Regions from separate parts of the Homo sapiens genome. Here region 2 is linked to region 1. The links are contacts of gene promoters, found by promoter capture Hi-C in blood cells and fetal thymus (Javierre and others, 2016). All regions are on one chromosome and are shown on one strand. Each heading gives the region's core, a stretch centred on a gene start or on the middle of the fragment in contact. The rest is flanking DNA. Distances are from core to core; before and after follow the strand shown.

What was found. The method cuts DNA at HindIII sites, captures the fragments that hold promoters and counts their contacts. A CHiCAGO score of 5 or more calls a contact.
Region 2: a fragment that was not itself captured here is called in contact with the fragment with the promoter of NECAB2 in region 1 in 2 of 17 cell types (M2 macrophages and megakaryocytes); the score reaches 5.3 in M2 macrophages.

What each region holds. Positions count from the first base shown.
Region 1 is chr16:83,964,823-83,969,643 of GRCh38, forward strand. It overlaps NECAB2 (N-terminal EF-hand calcium binding protein 2), which reads left to right and starts at 3,422. Exons shown (of 13, transcript NM_019065.3): 1 at 3,422-4,027. The coding sequence starts at 3,827. It overlaps OSGIN1 (oxidative stress induced growth inhibitor 1), which reads left to right. Exons shown (of 6, transcript NM_182981.3): 6 at 240-1,510. The coding sequence ends at 1,185. RefSeq lists a silencer at 3,298-3,487. The HindIII fragment of the contact is 14,372 bases long and covers 1-4,821 here.
Region 2 is chr16:84,443,953-84,448,852 of GRCh38, forward strand. ATP2C2 (ATPase secretory pathway Ca2+ transporting 2) reads left to right here. Exons shown (of 27, transcript NM_014861.4): 16 at 2,377-2,478; 17 at 4,581-4,737. Among named protein-coding and RNA genes, the nearest start is that of ATP2C2-AS1, 21 kb to the right of the region's middle. The HindIII fragment of the contact is 223 bases long and covers 3,447-3,669 here.

The sequences.
Region 1 (4,821 bases), core at 2,172-4,671:
ACCACCCTAGAGCATCCTACACCACCCTACACCACCTCTCCTGAGGGAGGCACCCTTGTTAGCTCCATTTTACAGAAGAGGAGACTGAGGCTTAGAGAGGTTGAATTACCTGGCCTAGTCCTACAGCTACAGCCTAGTCCAGCTCCAGGGCCTGACACTGCCCTGGACATCTCCCGTCCCACCCAGCCCCCCAACCCCTAACAGTGTCTGACTCTGGCGTCCTGCATCCTCCCCAACAGAGGTCTTCGCAACAGCCGGGCCACTGCCGGGGACATCGCCCACTACTACAGGGACTACGTGGTCAAGAAGGGTCTGGGGCATAACTTTGTGTCCGGTGCTGTAGTCACAGCCGTGGAGTGGGGGACCCCCGATCCCAGCAGCTGTGGGGCCCAGGACTCCAGCCCCCTCTTCCAGGTGAGCGGCTTCCTGACCAGGAACCAGGCCCAGCAGCCCTTCTCGCTGTGGGCCCGCAACGTGGTCCTCGCCACAGGCACGTTCGACAGCCCGGCCCGGCTGGGCATCCCCGGGGAGGCCCTGCCCTTCATCCACCATGAGCTGTCTGCCCTGGAGGCCGCCACAAGGGTGGGTGCGGTGACCCCGGCCTCAGACCCTGTCCTCATCATTGGCGCGGGGCTGTCAGCGGCCGACGCGGTCCTCTACGCCCGCCACTACAACATCCCGGTGATCCATGCCTTCCGCCGGGCCGTGGACGACCCTGGCCTGGTGTTCAACCAGCTGCCCAAGATGCTGTACCCCGAGTACCACAAGGTGCACCAGATGATGCGGGAGCAGTCCATCCTGTCGCCCAGCCCCTATGAGGGTTACCGCAGCCTCCCCAGGCACCAGCTGCTGTGCTTCAAGGAAGACTGCCAGGCCGTGTTCCAGGACCTCGAGGGTGTCGAGAAGGTGTTTGGGGTCTCCCTGGTGCTGGTCCTCATCGGCTCCCACCCCGACCTCTCCTTCCTGCCTGGGGCAGGGGCTGACTTTGCAGTGGATCCTGACCAGCCGCTGAGCGCCAAGAGGAACCCCATTGACGTGGACCCCTTCACCTACCAGAGCACCCGCCAGGAGGGCCTGTACGCCATGGGGCCGCTGGCCGGGGACAACTTCGTGAGGTTTGTGCAGGGGGGCGCCTTGGCTGTGGCCAGCTCCCTGCTAAGGAAGGAGACCAGGAAGCCACCCTAACACTCGGCCAGACCCGCTGGCTCCCAGGCCCTGAGAGGACAGAGATGACCACATCCCTGCTGGATGCAGGACCCGTCCAAAGATGCCCCGGGGAGGGGTGTCAGCCCACGTTGCTGGCCTTTGGGGTCAAGAGGAGTAGGGATCCCAGGCTGCCCTGGACTTAGACCAGTGTCTGAGGTGGTAACAGCGGCCGCAGGCCAGGGTTGGCCTAGACCTGGGATTTGTGGGGAAAGCTGCTGGTGTGACCAGCTGAGCACCCAGCCAGGAGACCTGCAGCCCTGCGCCTTCCAGAAGCAGGTCCCAAATAAAGCCAGTGCCCACCTGCTCTCATGCGTCTGAGGACTCTGTGCTCGGAGGGAGCTGCGTTCCCGGAACCCTGCACTGGGCTGGGGGGAAGGGAGGAAAGGGGATTGTGGGAGGAGTCCTGGGGCATGTGGTCCTGGATGAGGTCCATGGCTGGGGCCTTGGGGTACAAAGGATGGTGCCCCAAGTGTGGGGGCAGTTGAGCGGGCAGCTGTACTAGAGTCTGGGGGTGGGAGTGGCGGGTGTGTGCAGGCAGTGATGTCCAGGAGGGCGCTGCAGCCCCGCCCCCTCCGCAGCCTGTCCCAGGCCTCCCTCCTCTCTGTTCTGCCATGCGGCCTCCTTTCAGTCCCTCCTGCTGGCCAGGTCTCTGCCTGCCCCAAGGCCTTTGCACAGAGAGTCCCCAGCCCAGGACAGTTTCCCGCCTTTCTTTAACTCCTTTTCCTTGGGATGTCTCAGCATAAGAATCACTTCCTCTAGGAAGCCTCTTCTGACACAAACCCCTCCACTGCCGTCACAGCAAATACTCCTTTCATGGTCTAAGGTGCTACCTTTTCATAGCAGTGCAGTTTTTTTTTCTTTTTTTTGAGACAGAGTCTCATTTTGTCACCCAGGCTGGAGTGCTGTGGCGCTTGGTTCACTACAACCTCTGCTTCTGGGTTGAAATGATTCTCCTGTCTCAGCCTCCCAAGTAGCTGGGATTACAGGTGACTGCCACCTCGCCCAGCTAGTTATTGTATTTTTAATAGAGACGGGGTTTCACCATGTTGGCCAGGCTGGTCTTGAACTCCTGACCTCAAGTGATCCGCCCTCTTTGGCTCCCCAAAGTGTTGGTATCACAGGCATGAGCCACCACACCCTTCCAGCAGTTCAGTTTTAATTGTTCATTTGTTTGTGGAATCATTTCAGTGTTTGGCTCTGCCCACTTGGATGTAAGCTCCAGGAGCTCTGGGAGACCAAGTACACCATCTGTTTTGCCCATTGCTGGAACTCCGTGGTTGGGCACCTGCCTGGCACCTAGTGGGTTCTCCTTAATTCATCTTTTAAATGGATGGGTGGATGGATGGATGGGAGGATGGGTGGGTGGGTGGACAGATGGATAGATGAGAGGATGGTTGGATGGATGGGAGGATGGTGGGTGGGTGGATGGATGGATGGATGGATGGGAGGGAGGGGGGTGGGTGGGTGGGTGGATGGATGGGAGGGAGGATGGATGGATGGATGGGAGGGAGGGAGGATAGATGGATGGATGGAAGGATGGTGGGTGGATGGATGGGAGGGTGTGTAGGTGGGTGGATGGATGGATGGATGAGAGGGTAGGGGGGTGGATAGATGGATAGATGGGAGGGTGGGTGGGTGGATGGACAGACAGATGGGCGGGCGGGCAGATGGATGGACGGATGGATGGATGGATGGATGGATGGATGGATGGATGGATGGGAGGGTGGATGGATGGATGGATGGAGGGTGGATGGATGGATGCCAGGGAGGGAGGATGAGTGGGTGGGTGAATGGATGGATGGATGGGAGGATGCTGGGTGGGTGGATGGATGGATGGATGAATGGTTGGGAGGGTGGGTGGATGGATGGACGGACAGTCGGCCGGCCGGATGGATGGATGGGAGGATGGGTGGATGGATGTATAGATGGATTGATGGACGGGTAGGCAGGTGGATGGATGGATGGATGGATGGACGGACAGGTGGGTGGGTGGATAGATGGATGGGTGGATGGAGTATGAAGGAAAGATGTTCTGGGGTGAAGACTGGTTCTGGGCGTTTTGTAACCAAGGGGGCGGCCTGAGGGGGCGTGCACGCCCGCGGGAGTTAAGGATGGGCGCCCGCGGGCGTGACGGGGCCGCGGGGCGTGGGCGCCGCTCCCCGGGGCTGGAGCCGGCAGAGGGCGCTCCGGGCTCGCTGGACACCCGCGCTTCGGCCTCTGCTGCGCGCCGCGAGTGGGAGGGGGGACTTTAGAAGCGGGGAGAGCAGGAGACTTTTGGGGAGCAGGCCCCAGGGGCGCCGCCCCGCCCCCAGGCCCCACATACCCCTCCCCTCCGGGTAGCCCCCTCTGTGGCTGCGCCCGCGCCCCTCGCCCCGGCGGGCAGTCCTCAGGCCCCGCGCCCGGCCGGCGGGGGTGGGGGCGGCGGGGAGCGGGCACGTGGCTCGGGGTCCGGCCGGCCCGCCCCCCGGCGCCGGCCAGTCCCCGCGGTGTCCGCGGCCGCGGGGGCAGCGGGAGAGAGGGCGGGGCGGCGCGGGCAGCGCGGGGAGGGGGTCGCGCGGGGGCGGGCCGCAGCTGGGCGGGGGTCGGCGGGCTTCCGGGCGGCGGCGGCGGGCGCGGCGCGATGTGCGAGCGGGCGGCGCGCCTGTGCAGGGCCGGCGCGCACAGGCTGCTCCGGGAGCCGCCGCAGCAGGGCCGGGCGCTGGGCGGGCTGCTGCGCTGGGTGGGCGCCAGGATGGGCGAGCCCCGGGAGTCGCTGGCCCCCGCCGCCCCCGCGGACCCCGGCCCAGCCTCGCCGCGCGGGGGCACCGCCGTCATCCTGGACGTGAGTACGCGCCGGCCGGGACCCCCGCCGTGGCCTCCGCTGGGACCCGGAGCCCCCTCCGCCCCTCGGGCGGACCCCGACGCCGCGACCCGCGAGGCCCTCCCTACCCGGGCAGGAGACCCCCGGCCCCTCCGCGTGCCGGAGCGGGAGCCCCCAGCCCCGCCACGTCCAGGCCGGTCTCCAGCCCAGTCCTCTCCCTGGACCGGGAGACCCCCCTCCTCCGCCCCTCCACCGGCGCTTCTCGGAGTCCCTGCCTGCCCACAGTGGGGAGCCGTGAGCCCCCGGACCCGGCCACTGTCCCCCTAGTTTTGTCCAAGCCAAACCCCCACCCTTTACCCCGCGGGACCGGAGCCCCTCGCCGCGTCCAGCCGCCTCCTCCTCTCCATCCCGGATCCTGTCCGGAGCGATACTTTTCTGAGACCCCTAACAACCCCTACCTCTAGCCCACCTCTCTTCGCCCTAGACCCTGAGCCCCCGTTCATCTCACGCTCAAAGACCCTTTGCCCCAGCTACTGCCACTTTAAAAGTGAAGCCCCCTCCCCACCTTCTGTCTTCTCGTCTCCTTTCCATTGAGCCAGAGCCATCGCCCATCAGCCCTGAGCTGGTACCCCTCTGGTCTTCCCCACCCCGCCCCCTTCCATTCCAAGTCCTCTGTTCCCTTCCCCACACCCCTCTACCCTACAGAGAGCTGGGTCCTCTTCATGGACCAGACTCACCCCTCACCCCTCCTAACTCCCCTGGGACCCAAATCACCCATCTCTGGGAAGCCCACCTCACCCTCCCACCCGCCCCAC
Region 2 (4,900 bases), core at 2,308-4,807, 480 kb after region 1:
GGCCAAGAGTTTGAGACCAGCCTGGGCAACATAGCGAAAACCCATCTCTACAAAAAATATAAAAATTAGCTGGGCATGGTGGTGCATGCCTGTGGTCCCAGCTACTCAGGAGGCTGAGGCAGGAGGATCCCTTGAGCCCAGGAGTCTGAGGCTGCAATGAGCTATGATCACACCACTGCACTCCAGTCTAGATGAGAGAGATCCTGCCTCAAAAAAAAAAAAAAAAAAAAAACAAAAAGATTGGGCACAGTGGCTCACACCTGTAATCGCAACACTTTGGGAGACCGAGGCAGGTGGATCACCTGAGGTCAGGAGTTCAAGACCAGCCTGGCCAACATGGTGAAACCTCATCTCTACTAAAAATATAAAAATTAGCTGGGCATGGTGGTGCACACCTGTAATCCCAGCTACTCGGGAGGCTGAGGCAGGAGAATTGCTTGAACCCAGGAGGCGGAGGTTACAGTGAGCCGAGATCGTACCATTGCACTCCAGCCTGGGTGACAGAGCAAGACTCCGTCTCAAAAAAACAAACAGAAATCATGACATCGTATTATTTTTCTTCCATTCACAGAAGAGAATTCTCTCTGCAATGTCTGTAATAGTGAATGGAGCTCATTTCCCGTTTTAAAATAGTGCTGAGTCTGCCCCATTCAACAACTCCTCGCCGCCCAGAAGGGAAGGTGCCGGCCTGACCGCCTGGCAGGAATGACACCCATGTGTCACCTTGCTTCCGCCACCAGCCGTCCCTGCAGCCTAGAGAGGAGAGAGGTTCCAGCACCCAGAAGAGATTTCCTTGATGTGTTATAATTTTCCTTTTTCCTGGGGCCTGGCTTAAGATTTTGGAATACAGAACAAACACTGGCTGGCATGTAGGAAGTGCTGCCTGTGTGACAGGCATGGGGCAAGCACTTTGTGGTTCTTACCTGTCTCACCTGCTCTAAATGGCACTGAGGCCAGGCCAGTGGTTCCCGGGCTTTTCTTCCATTATTGCTCCTGGATTAGGGTCTTGGGGTTACTGAAATAAAACACCACTGGCTGGTGATTTAGTGTAACCAAAACACACTGAAACACAGCTCTGTGGCCAGAAGTTGAAATCAAGGTGTGAGCAGGGCCAGGCTCCGTCTCCCAGTTTCTGGGTGTTACTGGCAGCCCCGGGCGTTCCTTGACTCGCAGACGCATCCCTGCCTTGGTCTCTCACACCAAGCTCTGTCTCTGTCACGAGGTGCTCCCCGCCACGCCTCTGCGCAGCGTTTTCCTCTTTTTTTTTTTTTTTTGAGACGGAGTCTCGCTCTGTTGCCCAGGCTGGAGTGCACTGGCTTGATCTCCGCTCACTGCAACCTCCGCCTCCCAGGTTCAAGCGATTCTCCTGCCTCAGCCTCCCAAGTAGCTGGGACTACAGGCGCCTGCCACCACGCCTGGCTAACTTTTTGTATTTTTAGTAGAGACAGGGTTTCACCATGTTAGTCAGGATGGTCTTGATCTCCTCACCCCGTGATCCACCCGCCTCGGCTGCCCAAAGTCCTGGGATTACAGGCATGAGCCACCATGCCCGGCCTTCCTCCTCTTATATCCAGTCATGTTGGCTTAGGGCCAACCCTAATAGCCTCAAATTGACGATATCTGCAAAGGCGCTATTCCAAATCAGGTCACATTCAGAGGTTCCGAGGTTAGGACTTCAACATATCTTTTGTGGGGTACAATTCAACCCCACTAAGGAGATGGTTTAGGCATTTCTTCCCTAATCACCCCACTCCCTCCCCATGAAATTTAATATGGTAGATACACTGTATTGTACGCATATCTGCACTTTCTACGTAAAAGGAGTAGTTTTTTGTGCCCCTGCTGCACCGCATTTTCACCCCCTGTGGGACAGTGGGATGCATGGGTCATGACTGGTTTACACCTGGGGAAACTGAGATTCTGAGTTGTCACATCACTGATCCAAAAGCCACCAAAGAGCAACAAAGGGCCAGGCTGGCAAGGACCCCAGGCTGTGGACGGGGGGCTGGCAAGGACCCCATGTTCTGGACGCAGGGCTGTCTCACTGACTCAGGGGGTTCCGTCTGAGAAATTGCTACACCTTCAAGTCTGAAACATTCCTCCCGGCAGAAACACTGCAGGTTTGTTTCTAAGCAGATTTCAGATAGAAGCTGTTGCAAAGACCGTCTTGTCTGCCCTTCAGCCAAGAGAAGAGACTTTTTTTTTTTTTTCTAGGTGGGACATTCCAAGAGAAATGGCCTTTTTTCTATGTGCTAAATGCTTGGATTTCTTATCTGCCAGAGGTGGTTTGAACAATGAATAATTTAAATGGACTGAGCTTTGTATAGAGATTGGCTTCGGATGACTCACTAAAAATGTGTCATTTTATTATGCTAGATGGACTTAAGTGATATTAAAAATTCATATATAAGAAAAAAAGAGATTCCATTCAGTTCAGAGCAGAAGTGGATGGCGGTGAAATGCAGTCTGAAGACTGAGGTGAGACCTTTCAATCTTCAACCTCTTCTCTCTTTCTGCCCGGGCCCCCACCCAGAGATAAAGCAAAATGCAGACTTCAAGGATAATTTGAAAGTTCCTGGCTGCTTCTGTGACGTTCCAAATACATGGAAAAACTTAATCACCATCATACCTTTGATTCTCTTGGGTCTGCTTCTGGCTTTTTGTTTAAAACAGAAGTTCTTAAAGCAGGGTCCCTGGAGTAGCAGCGGTTGTTACCACGCGAGACTTTATTAGAAATGCAGAATCTCAGGTTCCATGCCAGACCTCCTGAGTCGAAGGGTCCAGGGGTGGGACCCAGTAACCTTCATTTTCTGCAGATTCTGATGCAGGTGCAAATGTTGAGATCGACCAGCCTGTAATCCAGTGACTGAGGCCCTGCTGCTAACACCAGTCGCCAACTTGCCAGTCCTCTCTTTGCAGCCCTGTGCTAAGTTTTTTATACTTCTTAGCTCATCTCCCCGTCATACTGGGGAGCAAATCCTTCAGTACGGAAGGCGTGTCTGTGTGGTGCATCAGCGTGTGCACACGTGTTGTCCCTGGCTAGAGGAACACATACCAAGCTATGGCCACCCCGGGTGGACATTACAGCTGATTTTTAAAATTTTCTTTTCAGATTTGTTGTGGCTTTTCAGATTTTCCTTAAAAGCTATTTTTTAAAGTTTTTGTTGCCTTCTACCGTTTTCTCCACCCCTCCTCTTCCCTCCCACTCTTTCTAGAATCTATCATGTCTGCCCACGCAGACTGCTCAGCTCCCACTCAGGGCTGTGGGCAGCTCAGCCAGCTCATGCCAGGCCCTTCCTGTGCATGGATGGACACATGTACATTTCAGGGGCTTAGAAGGGATTATAGATTTTCAAAAAACTTTTAGACCTTTAAATCTTTTCCCTTGCAAGGCAATGGTAATATATTCTCATTGAAAAAGTATAGAAATATGACATAAAAATGAAAGCTTCTTTCATTCCACCCTTCTTCCCTCCCTCCCCACCACCCACCCAGAGGTAATTCTATTTTAAGTCTGGGATGGAGCATTGCAGATTTTAAATATGCAAACGACAACATCTGGATGGTATTTTCAAAACAAGGTCACTATTTATAGTGTGTGTAATTTGCTTTTTCCCCCTAAGATTTTCTTTTAATATTATGTCTTAGATGTCTGTGTTGGTTAATATAAGCTTGTTATATTAACATATTAATTATATAATATGTAATATATATTACATATATTACATATATTATTTAATATATATTATGTAATATATATTATAATTGTATAAGAATATATTAGTTATATATAATATATAATATACATATAAATAATATAATGTAATATAATACATATAAATAATATACAATACATATGTACTATAATTAATGTATTAACATCTGTAATTAATATTATATTTATTAATAACATTAATATGTTAATTACATATTAATAACATATATAATTAATATTATATTATCTTATAACAGTGTTACATTCACACTGTGCACCCACGTGAGCCAGGTATGTCCGGTATTGAGGCTAGGGGTACAGTGTGACTCTCACTGACCCAGGGCCTCCCCCCGTGGAGTTCATAGTCTACATGTTTGTCATGACAGAGCTTAAGAAAAACACAGGAAAAATGATCAGCTACTCATGTGGCTTCACTATTACAAGCCAAGTGCTGGGGGTGGGTACAAAATAGACTTGGTGCTGCCCTAGGGAGGCAACAGTCTAATGGAAATATTCCCAGTTAATCACACCCCCAAAGGCACAGTCCCAGCTGGGATGATACCTCCCGTGCATGAAACATACAAGACGCTCTGAGTGACCATAACAAGGGAACTGAAAAAAGAACAAGGGTAGTACAGGTTGAAGATTGGCCTTGTTCTTTCTCTGGACTGCAAAACGTTCCATGGATGGATTCTAGAACTTCGCGAACCTGTCCAGCACCTGTGAACAGCACCAGCCTATGATAAATAACTCCGCTGCAAAGATCCCCGTGTGTGTCTTTGTAACCTTGTGCAGAGTGGGGTGATGGTCAGTATGAACCAAGGCTTCCAGTGATAGTGGATTTCTTCCCTTTGTCTTTTCTAAGGATCAGGAAGACATTTACTTCATGAAAGGGGCCTTGGAAGAGGTGATCCGCTACTGCACCATGTACAACAACGGGGGCATCCCCCTGCCGCTGACGCCCCAGCAGAGGTCATTCTGCCTGCAGGAAGAGAAGAGGATGGGGTCGCTCGGTTTGCGGGGTCAGTGCCTGTGGTCCCGGCCCAGAGCTTTAAGCTTGCATGTAACATTGACTTTTAAGTGCATTCAAGCAGGGTCCCTAGTCAAGGAGGTCACCCGTCCCAAGGAGTCAGGCAGCATGCTGACGGCAATAATGTGTGCTTGGAACCTGATGGTCACATGAAA